2 separate regions of the Homo sapiens genome follow, and region 1 is linked to region 2. Evidence: promoter capture Hi-C in 16 types of primary human blood cells and fetal thymus (Javierre and others, 2016). All regions are on one chromosome and are shown on one strand. Each heading gives the region's core, a stretch centred on a gene start or on the middle of the fragment in contact. The rest is flanking DNA. Distances are from core to core; before and after follow the strand shown. Region 1 overlaps SLC22A5 (solute carrier family 22 member 5). Region 2 holds the start of SHROOM1 (shroom family member 1).

What was found. Contacts are between HindIII fragments. The CHiCAGO score rates a contact against its expected background, and 5 or more counts as called.
Region 1: a fragment that was not itself captured here is called in contact with the fragment with the promoter of SHROOM1 in region 2 in 3 of 17 cell types (monocytes, fetal thymus and total B cells); the score reaches 8.8 in monocytes.

What each region holds. Positions count from the first base shown.
Region 1 is chr5:132,391,751-132,396,906 of GRCh38, reverse strand. It overlaps SLC22A5 (solute carrier family 22 member 5), which reads right to left. Exons shown (of 10, transcript NM_003060.4): 8 at 4,292-4,474; 9 at 3,096-3,231; 10 at 1,295-2,722. The coding sequence ends at 2,635. Among named protein-coding and RNA genes, the nearest start is that of CARINH, 17 kb to the left of the region's middle. The HindIII fragment of the contact is 5,582 bases long and covers 893-5,156 here.
Region 2 is chr5:132,828,283-132,833,435 of GRCh38, reverse strand. It overlaps SHROOM1 (shroom family member 1), which reads left to right and starts at 2,789. Exons shown (of 10, transcript NM_001172700.2): 1 at 2,789-2,842. RefSeq lists silencers at 2,481-2,900, 3,111-3,420. The HindIII fragment of the contact is 14,647 bases long and covers 1-5,153 here.

The DNA.
Region 1 (5,156 bases), core at 2,434-4,933, 440 kb after region 2:
ACTCACCAACTCTGCCCCTGTGGCTACAGTTTGTGTATGCCTCTCTCCTGGAGCAGAGGAGATCCTTGGTCTGATAACACACTCAGTCTTCCCAAAGTCATGGCTCTAAGGGAAACAAGCCACACACGAATCCAACAGGCTTAGACAGAGGACTTGGAATTCCACATGCTTGGCTCAACCCTGGAAGTGACTTGGGCTCTTGCCTCACCACATGAAGAGCTCTAAGCATTCAGGTAATTATGGTTTTTGCCCTCAGAAGGCCACAAATGACTGGAATCAGTGGCATGGAGAATAAGAGAGAAAATGCAGAAACTATTCACTCCTGCTACAGGACAATGGGTAGACAGAACTGCAATTCAGATTCTAGAGCCCCTGGGAAGACAGTTAATCAGTAGTCCAGCACAGAACCATGTTTGAGGAGAGTGGAGAAGCCAACAGTGTTCCAGAAGACGTGCTGCCTTCCTTCTCCCCCAAGTTTGATGCTGCTTGTTTTGTTATGCAACATGCCCTTGAGTTTCTATCCAACACTGGAGCTTTTTACCCAGGTCCATCCACACCTTCTAGCCCAAAATGCCCTGTGCAAATTGTATATAGATTAAGACACCTCTTGTGCACCACACTCAACCCCCAATCCTCTCAGCCCACCACTTACTCCAGCCACTGTTGCAGTGACCAGTTCTGATGGGCTCTGGCAACCCCTACTTCAGCCCTGCAATGTATTCTCTCTTGCTTTCTACCCACGGGACAGAACTTATTTGGGACTCATGCATGTGCAGCCTGGAAACATGTGGAGCTGACACCTGTGGGCTGCCTTTACAAATGGATGCCAACAGAGAAATGCTTCCCCCTTTTACTCAAGGTACAGATGGTGTTGAGATGCATTTCATAAGCTTCTTCTGAAGTCCTTGCTGGATGGAGCATCCCTGCCTTTGGTGCTAGTCAACCTGAAAATGCATCTTTGTATTCAGCCTCCCTCCTTCCCTGTTCTCCTCCTGTCCTTTATTGCTGCTCCCTGGAATCTTGTCCCCAAAGCATAAACTGCTTAACTGCACAGAAGCACTTGTCTCAGTCTCTACTTTCAAGGGAACCCAAGATACATTTGTGCAAGAAGGCTGGCTCAGCCCATAGTCAATTAATAAAGTGAAGAATTCTAGTGCACAAGAATCAAATCTTAGTCTTAGAGATTAATCCCAACCATTGCTAGAATTAGCCCAAGCTGATACAGAGAAAAGGCAGATGACAGTGTGGCACAGGCTCACTAAATTCTAGAAATAAAGATTCTAGGCAGTTGCTGTTATTTAAAAAATCATTTTACTTATTAAAACTTTCTCATTTCCCAAGGCACTTCAGTAGCTTTCACAAAAACATGTTTGTTCTTTTTTAACCAGGTGAGGCATATGCTTTAGGAGTACCATGGTAACATAATCAGCAAAGAGAAGACAATTACACTGAACACAAAATATCACCCAATAAAGTTACAGGACTAAAGTGAGCTACTCTGAAAGACTATGAACACAATTTAAATTTCTTTTTTGTAATATCCTCCCATGACTAAGTATCAAGAAAGGAACACACACAATGACACTGTTTTTGGCACTTAGAGAAGTGCTAGAGGCTAGGGCTGGTAAGGCCTTGCACCAGTGGCAGCTGCAGACAATTGCCAGAGTGATTCTGTTTTAAAAAAAAAAAAAAAAAGACACAAACCAGGAGGCTAAGGAACCAGCCTTTCCCAAGTGCATTCTGAAGGGCAAATAACAAGGAGAAAAGGATACAACAACAAACAAATAAACAATAAAACAAAACCCACATTACAGCTTTGAGAGAAAAGACAACGTTGCTCATCTCTCTCACCTGATAAATTTCCTTTAAACCATACATAAGACGCTATAGTAGCAAGGAGGTTTCCACAGCAGTGGAAAACAAGAATAGTAGATTCAATGGAGCATTTATTATGAGCCTGGACAAGCCCAGTGCTTTGATCAGATGTAAACAAGTCTACTCAGTCGTCATGCTGAGTGGTCTTAAGAGCTCACACATCAGTGCACTTTGCTGGTGATCTGCATCTGCTCATTCTGCTCCATCTTCATTACCTTTCACTTTCCCTAGCTCTGCGCTCTCCTGCCCTGGGGAAGCAATGATCCAGTTAATGTCCTCTGTAACTGAGAAAAGGTAAGAATCAAACTCCTTGTGCAATTACTTCCTTTTCCTCTAAAGTTCACCACTAGAGGGGAGTGGGGAAAGGGGTGGGGGACTTAGACCTCTAGCCTTATTAGGGGCCTTTTCAAGTAGTCTAAAATTAAAATGTACATTTAGCATATGCTTCTCACATTCCTCCAGATCTCACTGGTTCTAGTGAAAAATTAACTGCTTTGGAGGTGCTGAGTCCATCATTGTAATAGTTAGGACTTAGATGAAGTTGTCTGTAGGTAGCCCCAGTGTCCCTAGAGGAAGGTGGTGCTCTAGGGCCATATGTAGCCTCTGAGTGTGGGTGCCCATCCAGGAGCAAGTCAGACACAGGTCAAGAGGACAAACAGCAAAGGCCTTTTGTCACTGAAGGACTCGGAGTCTGCACAAGCTGGCCATTTCTGGCAAGACAGTCTTTCCTCTTCAGTTTCTCCCTTACTGGAAGCGATGTTAGAAGGCTGTGCTTTTAAGGATTGTGGGCCTTTCTTGACCATCTTTTAACATCCTTGTGTGACTTGGAGTTTTTCTGTGTTTCATTCTATAAAAACAAGCAAAAATATGTCAGTAACACATTTTAAAAAGATGCCTCCCAGTCTCCAAACAAACAAGAACTGAGGATATCTTCCCTGGGAAGAGAATCCTGCAGCAGATTCTGAAAGGTTTCTTCTAGCCTCTGAGTTATCCAGTGCGGCTACTGCCATGGAGATGTGTATAGTGACATGTCCACACAGGAACAGACCAGAGAGGATGGGCTATAAGTAAGCACCTTGCCATTTACAACCCTTTAATGGCTAAACTAGTCCATGGTGTCTGTGAGAGGGAGTTTGCGAGTAGCTCTATTGTGAGGGGCTCCTGAGACCTGGCCAGACCCAGACCCAGTGCATCAACACTGACAGAGGAGGTCTTCTTACCCTTTGACTCTTAGCATCTGGTCAATGGTGTCTGGGAGTGGGGTACCGAAGCTCTCTGGGAGAAACAAGGTGAGGATGGCTGTCAGGATGGTCAGACTTCCCATGAGAATGTAGGGCAGGAAGCGGTCGTAGGCACCTATGGCAAAGCAGACGGAGCCTCAGGCCCAGGGCTGCAGTTAGACTTGGTCTCTCATCTACCCCTTTATGCTCCCAGGACTCTGGAAGGGGATCACTTTCCTTCTTGGTCTCACATCTCTCACAGTCTGAGCAGTCAGATTAGAATCTGGCATCTAGACAGGTTTCAGAACCCAGAGCTGGCACAGGCATGCCCAGAGCCCAGCAGTGTTCCACCATGCAGGGGAGGAGTACAAAGGGGCGGTTGCAGTAGAAGAGCTGGGCCATGCTGATTATTCCTATTTCTGGGCCATGCTGATTATTCTTATTTACCAAGGTTGGGTTTCCAAGGAACCTGAGGTACTTGTCCAGGGATGGAAATAACTCTTCCACCTCTGCAGATGTGTCCCAGCCCATGTGATCTGCCTTCAGATTAGGCAGGGTGCTTTTGCTTGCTTTGAGATCTACATAGCATGTTCACAAAGCACTCTGAGTACTCTCAGGTGGGTGCCACCCTCCCTAAAGAGGTACTGGCTAGGGATGTGCAGGAAACCACAGGTGCTATGAAGACATAATTCTGAGAAGAGAAAACTGGAGACCTGCTACATAAAATGGCATGGGGTGGATCTTCACACAAGATAAAATCACTCTATAGTGCTCTAGGTTATAATAATTTTCCGTTCATCAGACCTCTTGCATGGACATCTTTCCCCTCATGTTCCTTTTAAACTCTGATTCCAAGAAATTTCTCCAACTAAGCACACTGGCTCCCTAAACCACTCTGTAGGTTCTTAGGATAAAGGAATTGTAGTCTCTGATGGAAGGCCTGGGATGGCTAAAACAGAAACAAACCCTCTAATATTCTCATCAATTTCTAGGTAATCTATAGGTTGTTTTCCATTTGAAAGTGAGGGCCAGTGCACTGGGACAAGAACCCTTCCCGGCCAAAGATCCAGTACTGGATGGAGCCCATGTACTGTATGAACTTGTTTTCCTGTTAACACGCAACCTCCAGCTCACATTCAAGCCAGTTAGTACTTCCATCCCGTTGCTCTAGTGTGCCCTTGGCTCATGGGACTTACCAAGGTAAACGAAGTAGGGAGACAGGATGCTGCCCAGGCGGGATGCTGTGGAGCTGACTCCCACACCCATGTTTCTCACCACTGTGGGATACAGCTCGGCTGTGTACACGTAGACCATGGAAAAGGCAGCCGTGACTCCAAACTTGCCCACCATCACCAGGACTGTAGCCAAATAATACAAGTCTGGAGAAGCAAAGGAAAGAGGGTAGGAGTAGGTACCAACCCATGGCATGCAGCTATTGAGAGCAAAACAAACATACTTTCTTCCCAAATTTTTTGGGGAGTCAGTTTCTATCACTTCCTATTGTGGGGGAAGGGGCTATAGCCAAGATTTCCCTCCAAATTGATTGCTGAAAGGAGGCTGGGACCTGCAGCTATAAGGACATGCACTTTCCTCAACCTGGAGACCACCAGAGTAAGCTCCTTAATAGTCCAATCAACCTGCTTCCCAGTCTATAAGTCATTAAAGACATGTCTGTCAGGGATTAACTGTCACCCCAGAACCTCACACTGCAGGCACTATGGAATTAACTCATGATGTTTAGATGAATGGAGAATTCAGTTCTAACTCATTTCATGCTTTCCTCCCACTCAGACCTCAAAAAAATCATAGGCCATCAGAATCTCAAGTTGATCTTCTAATCTCTCTGTGCTGTGCTGATGGGAGAGCTATGTGTGACCTGAAGGTCACTCTGAGCTCAGCTGTGAGCCTCTACATCAGTTCTGGGCTCCTCCTGCCACATCCCATGGGGAGCTGTTCCCGTGCAGTGTTCTCAGCCTGATGGGCCCAAAAGTGACCATCAGAGGCTCCCAAATCTACAGGTACACTGAAGTCTCTGGGCACAGTGATGGAGAGGGAGAGATG
Region 2 (5,153 bases), core at 1,540-4,039:
GGATCTGGGTTTGGGTTAGTGCTTTTCAAGAGGGTTAAAGAAGCAGAACTTTCCTTTGTGCTGGATGCTGTCAAGAAGCAAGAGTAATTCTATGATTGGGTATATTAATAAATCTTATCTAGAAAGAGGAATGATTAGAGTGAGGCTAAAGCTGCAATTGGTAAAGAAGCAGCAGGTACTCACATTAGCTAGGACAGCAGGCACTCATTAGCTAGGTCATTTTTGTGACTTGGACAATGTTCATGCTTTTGTATGTGTTAGACATGATTAGAGTGCTGTTGTTTTTGTCTTGATCCATCATTGTTAAAGAACGGCCCTGTCTCACATTGATGCCCTGTGAAATGGCTTATGTCCAATGGGACAACAGTAAGGCCTTGCTGTGAATGTCAGGTCAAATTCTGGCAACACCAAGGTCCAGCTGGGCCTTTCAGATGTTAGGGGTTACTTTTCTCTTTCTCAGAACAGAAGAGGTTAAGAGAGACGTGGGTAGGTGGGATTTCAGTTTTCTGGGGACTTAGGCAGAGAGTTGCTTAGTGTGTGCAAGAGGTGAGCGGTAGGTGGGTGGAGTGGGTTAATAAGAATCGCTCTGGACTGCATCCTCATGGTCCCTAGCAGAGAGTTGCTTAGTGTGTGCAAGAGGTGAGTGGTAGGTGGGTGGAGTGGGTTAATAAGAATCGCTCTGGACTGCGTCCTCATGGTCCCTAGCAGAGAGGTGCTGTAGTGTGTGCAAGAGGTGAGTGGTAGGTGGGTGGAGTGGGTTAATAGAATTGTTCTGGACACTGTGTCCCCATAGTTTTCAAGAAATATAAGTAAAAAACATAACCATTTTTTTTTTTTTTGAGACAGAATCTCACTCTGTTGCCCAGGCTGGAATGAAGTAGCGTGATCTCGGCAGACTGCAGCCTATGCCTCCTCGGTTCAAGCGATTCTTGTGCCTAGGCCTTCCAAGTAGCTGGGACTACAGGTGCGTGCCACCACGTCCAGCTATTTTTTTTTGTATTTTTGTAGAGACAGGGCTTCGCCATGTTGCCGAGGCTGGTCTCGAACTCCTGAGCTCAAGCAATCTGCCCACCTTGGCCTCCCAAAGTGCTGGGATTACAGGCATGAGCCACCGCCCCAGCCAACATGAGCAATTAAAAATTTTTTGTTGTTGTTTGCTGGGCTGTCTTTCTTCTATTTTGATGCTGCTGTGAGACTCTGTGGATCAGGGTCTTAAAAATATTAAAAGTCTTTCAGGCCGGGTGCGGTAGCTCATGCCTGTAATCCAGCACTTTGGGAGGCCAAGGTGGGTGGATCACCTGAGGTCACGAGTTTGAGACCAGCCTGGCCAACATGGCGAACCCCGTCTTTACTAAAAATACAAAAATTAGCTGGGCGTGGTGCCCGGTGCCTGTAATCCCAGCTACTTGGGAGGCTGAGGCAGGGAAAATTGCTTGAACCTGGGAGGCGCAGGTTTCAGTGAGCAGAGATCCGGCCACTGCACTCCAGCCTGGGCGACAGAGGGAGACTCTGTCTCAAAAAAGCAAAACAAACAACAAAAGTCTTTCAAAGCCGAAAGGTTCTTAGGCACTGTCTTAAAGCCTAGCGCTCCAGCTGAAGCTGGTGCCTGAGTCCAGATGGTGTTGAAGAAGGAGCAGGGCCCAGCGGGCACCACTCTCAGAAGTCGGGCTCAGGTGTCTCCTGCCTCCGAACCCAAGAAGACCCAAGAAGACAGAGTTCCTCAGGCTCCCAGTGTCCCTAGGAAGTGGCAACCTTGACTCTTGGCCAGAGTTCAGAGTCCTGGTTATTAACACCAATAAACCTTTATTTGCCAGGGATACTACCATGGGAGGACACAGCCCCTGAGCCCAGCCCTGTTGATCCTGTGGGAGCGGGAGGGCAGCGGAGGACAAAGGCAGAGACCTGAGAGCCGGAGAGGCTCATCAAAGGGTCCCCAGCCCCTCTCAGGAACGGAGCATTTCTTGGCAGAGTGGTATTCATAGGACAGAGTTTGGGAAGTCGGGGCAGGGGAGCCTGAGGACACAGCAAGGAGAGCTCAGTGGCAGGTGCAGGCAGAGCGTTCTTTGGAAAATGGAGATCCTGGAAGGTGAGGGCCTCGAGCGCCAGTGTCCAGCCTTAGTGGGTATGCATATGTCCAGCTCCCTAAGGACACACTCAGGACAGCTAAGGTGCACACAAGTCCAGGGGCTTCCCCGTGCTCCGCCCCCCTCTCCCCCACCCCGGTAGCAGGCTGGAGGGCCCAGACCATGCTGGGTAGTGGGAGAAATGGAAAGAAATGGGACAGGGAACAGGAGACAAGAGCCCATGGTGGGAGTCAAAGAGCTGGAAGAGTTTTGGAAATGGGGGTCTGGGGGTAGAGTTGATCAAGGGCCGAGTTACTCAGCGGGACAGGTGGGAGGCACGAGGCCCTGGCAGCTCTGTTTTCTTGGCCGGGCTTGGGGGGGAAAGCGGGTAGCCGTCAGGCGCCTAAGGGCCCGCCCTGGACCTCCCCACCGAGGGAGGTGTCAGGCCCCGAGGGACCCGGCCCCCGAGCATCACGGACGCGCTGGAGGCCGGTGGGCGGTCGCCGTAGTCGCCCTCCCACCACCTCGCTCAGGTTTCTCCGGCCTGGGGCAAGAGGCCTGTGGCCCGCGCGGGAACGCACTGTCCACCCTCAGACCTGGGACTGGGCCGGCGCGCGGACGCTACCAAGAGGCTGCGGCTCCCGCCCCCGCGGCCGGACGTGGCGCCTCCCCTGAGGCCGCGGCCGGAGCCTGGAGGTGGGGTCGGAGTCAGAGCCCGGGGCTCTGATGTCACCGCGCGGCTGCGACGGCCCAGGAGCGCGTCTCGGCGGGAGCCTCAGGTACGCGGCGGGGGCGGGGGAGCGGGAAGCGGGCGGCTGGGTCCGCTTCCCCCGGGAGGCCGGCGGGGCTGCGGGCGGACGGGGGTGAAGAGCGGGCGGCGAGGCGGTGGTCGCGGGGCAGCCCGGGCATCGTTCGGCCGGGACGTGTCTGGCTCGGCGCCGCGTCAGGTTGCGCCAGTGGAGTCGGACCCCAGCGCGCCTCTCCCAGCTGCAGAGCTGCAGGGCGGAGAGGCGGCCCACTCTAAGCTGGCGGCGCGGCTCAGGGGCGCGGCTGGGCGCGCCGCGTGTGGCGCCGGCGGGCAGCGCGGTCTCACTCCGCCACCCTCCGCTCCTGCCCTTTGTCGCCAAGCATCTGGAGAAGCCGGGTCCTTCCCTCCCGGGCTCGCGCTGTCCCCTGCGCGCGATCCTTCCCCGACGGTGAACCCAACGGGAAAGGCCCAGAACTGCGCGGGGCTGCGGCCATCTGCTGTCGAGCCGCTCCGCGTGTCTCTGCCGCCCCCTGCGGCCGCCGGGGCCTGCGCCTCTCTCCCTCCCGTGCCTCGGCTCCCAGAGATTGAACCCCAGGTAACCGGGTCTGTCCACGCCCGCGGCCGCCTCTCCCCGGGTGTCGCCAGCTTCCTGCATTTCCTGTGCATGGCACGGAGCTCGGGTCTCCAGAGACTCTGCATCTGGGGTGCAGCGACCGATGAGCCCGTAAACCAGTCGCACACTCGGAGCGTGGATGCTGCGTGGGGTGCGCTGTCAGCGCGGACAGGCTGGGAGAACGGGGGACGCTGGGGACAGGGAGAGCCGGTGAACTTCCCAGAACGTCCGCCTAGCCAGACCCAGCTGCGGGTACTGGGTTTTGAGACGTGGTCCAGTACCCAGGAACTCAGTCTGACAGGGAGACAGCGCCTACACAGTGAGCCCAGTACTGAGGGAAGACCCGCTGGGAGGGGCGGCCTGGATAGCCCCTCCACAGAGAGGTCAGATGTGAGGTGGCCTTGAGGGAGGTATGATGTAAATCCTGATCATTCGTTGTATTTGAGGCTGTCCGTTCTCCTGTGCCTCCTCGGTCGCCTTACTTGGATCTGTTCCCATTGCCTTGGTGTGATTTTATCCACCGGAAACTGTCTTCAGCTATTTCCCCAGTAACCTCTAACTAAAAACCTGGGTCTTGCCTGGTCTACCCTCCCCTGCTGAACTCCAGAGCCACATCCCAACTGCTGCCTGACTTGTCACAGACACCATGAAGCCCAGACTGAAGGAGCACTGGCCCCCTTGACAATTCCTCAGCCCCAGCTCCTCCTTTCAGACTGGTGCCTCCACCTGCCAGACCCCTAGCTTTGAAGGCCAATCTCATCTTCGTCTCCTTCCTCTCTGGCTCCTTCATTCAGGTGACAAGTATACATCAAATGCCCACCCCAACTCCCCCTCCCAGGACTCCAATCTGGTGTCTTTCTAGCGGGGAGTCTAGGTTGCTCCCTCTGCTCTGGAGAGGCTTGGCAAAATGCCTGCAGAGCTCCTTGAGCTCCACCTCTGAACTCCCTTTCAGCAGCCGGCACAGGCATAACAGCCCAGCCCACAGGTACCACTGCCACTGAGGCAGGGACCCCTAAGGTAGGGCTACCCCCAGCCACAGGGGCTGGCTGGACTGCAAGAGGCTCCCTGCAGCCAGACAAGTATGAAAATGCCTTGTTGTTTTGTGCTGAGGCCCCCCAAAACACACCAAAGCAGCTGGGCCCTCTTGGCATGGTAGGTTCTGCAAAGCACCCACTGTGAGGAGCCTGCGTGAACATCAACCTGATAGGGCCACCAGTGCAAAAGCATCTTCAACAAGTTACAGTCAATAAGGAAACACATGTGTAGACACATTTTTATTGCCCATTCAAGCTGTTTTTATTTGCTGAATTCAGAATCCTTTAACATAGTAACTCACAAATAAGATAGATTTTCATAGATTTTCAAGACCTCTTTTGAGGAAACATCTTGTGTTTGGTGATCCCCATCTGTAGCTGCAGCAAGCCAAAATGGGCAGGATGGGTGACATGAGCTAGTGCTCCCAAGCTGGACTCAGAAAGAGTAGGAAGAGAAAGGGCTAATGTCTGAGCAGTCGGGTGGGCTTCCTAGATGAGGGGACTGTCCTCCCAGGAGCTGCTACTCAGAGTAGTTTCTTGTCCTCCTAAAGTTTAGAGTGGAAATACTTTGCAAAAGAGGTCCCCAACCCTAAGTGTGAGGGCTAAGCTCCTGGGCTTAGTAGGCATATACAAATGCCCCCAGGTGGGTGACATCAAGATGTTCTGGTCCTAGGTCTGCTGAGAGCCTCTCCTGG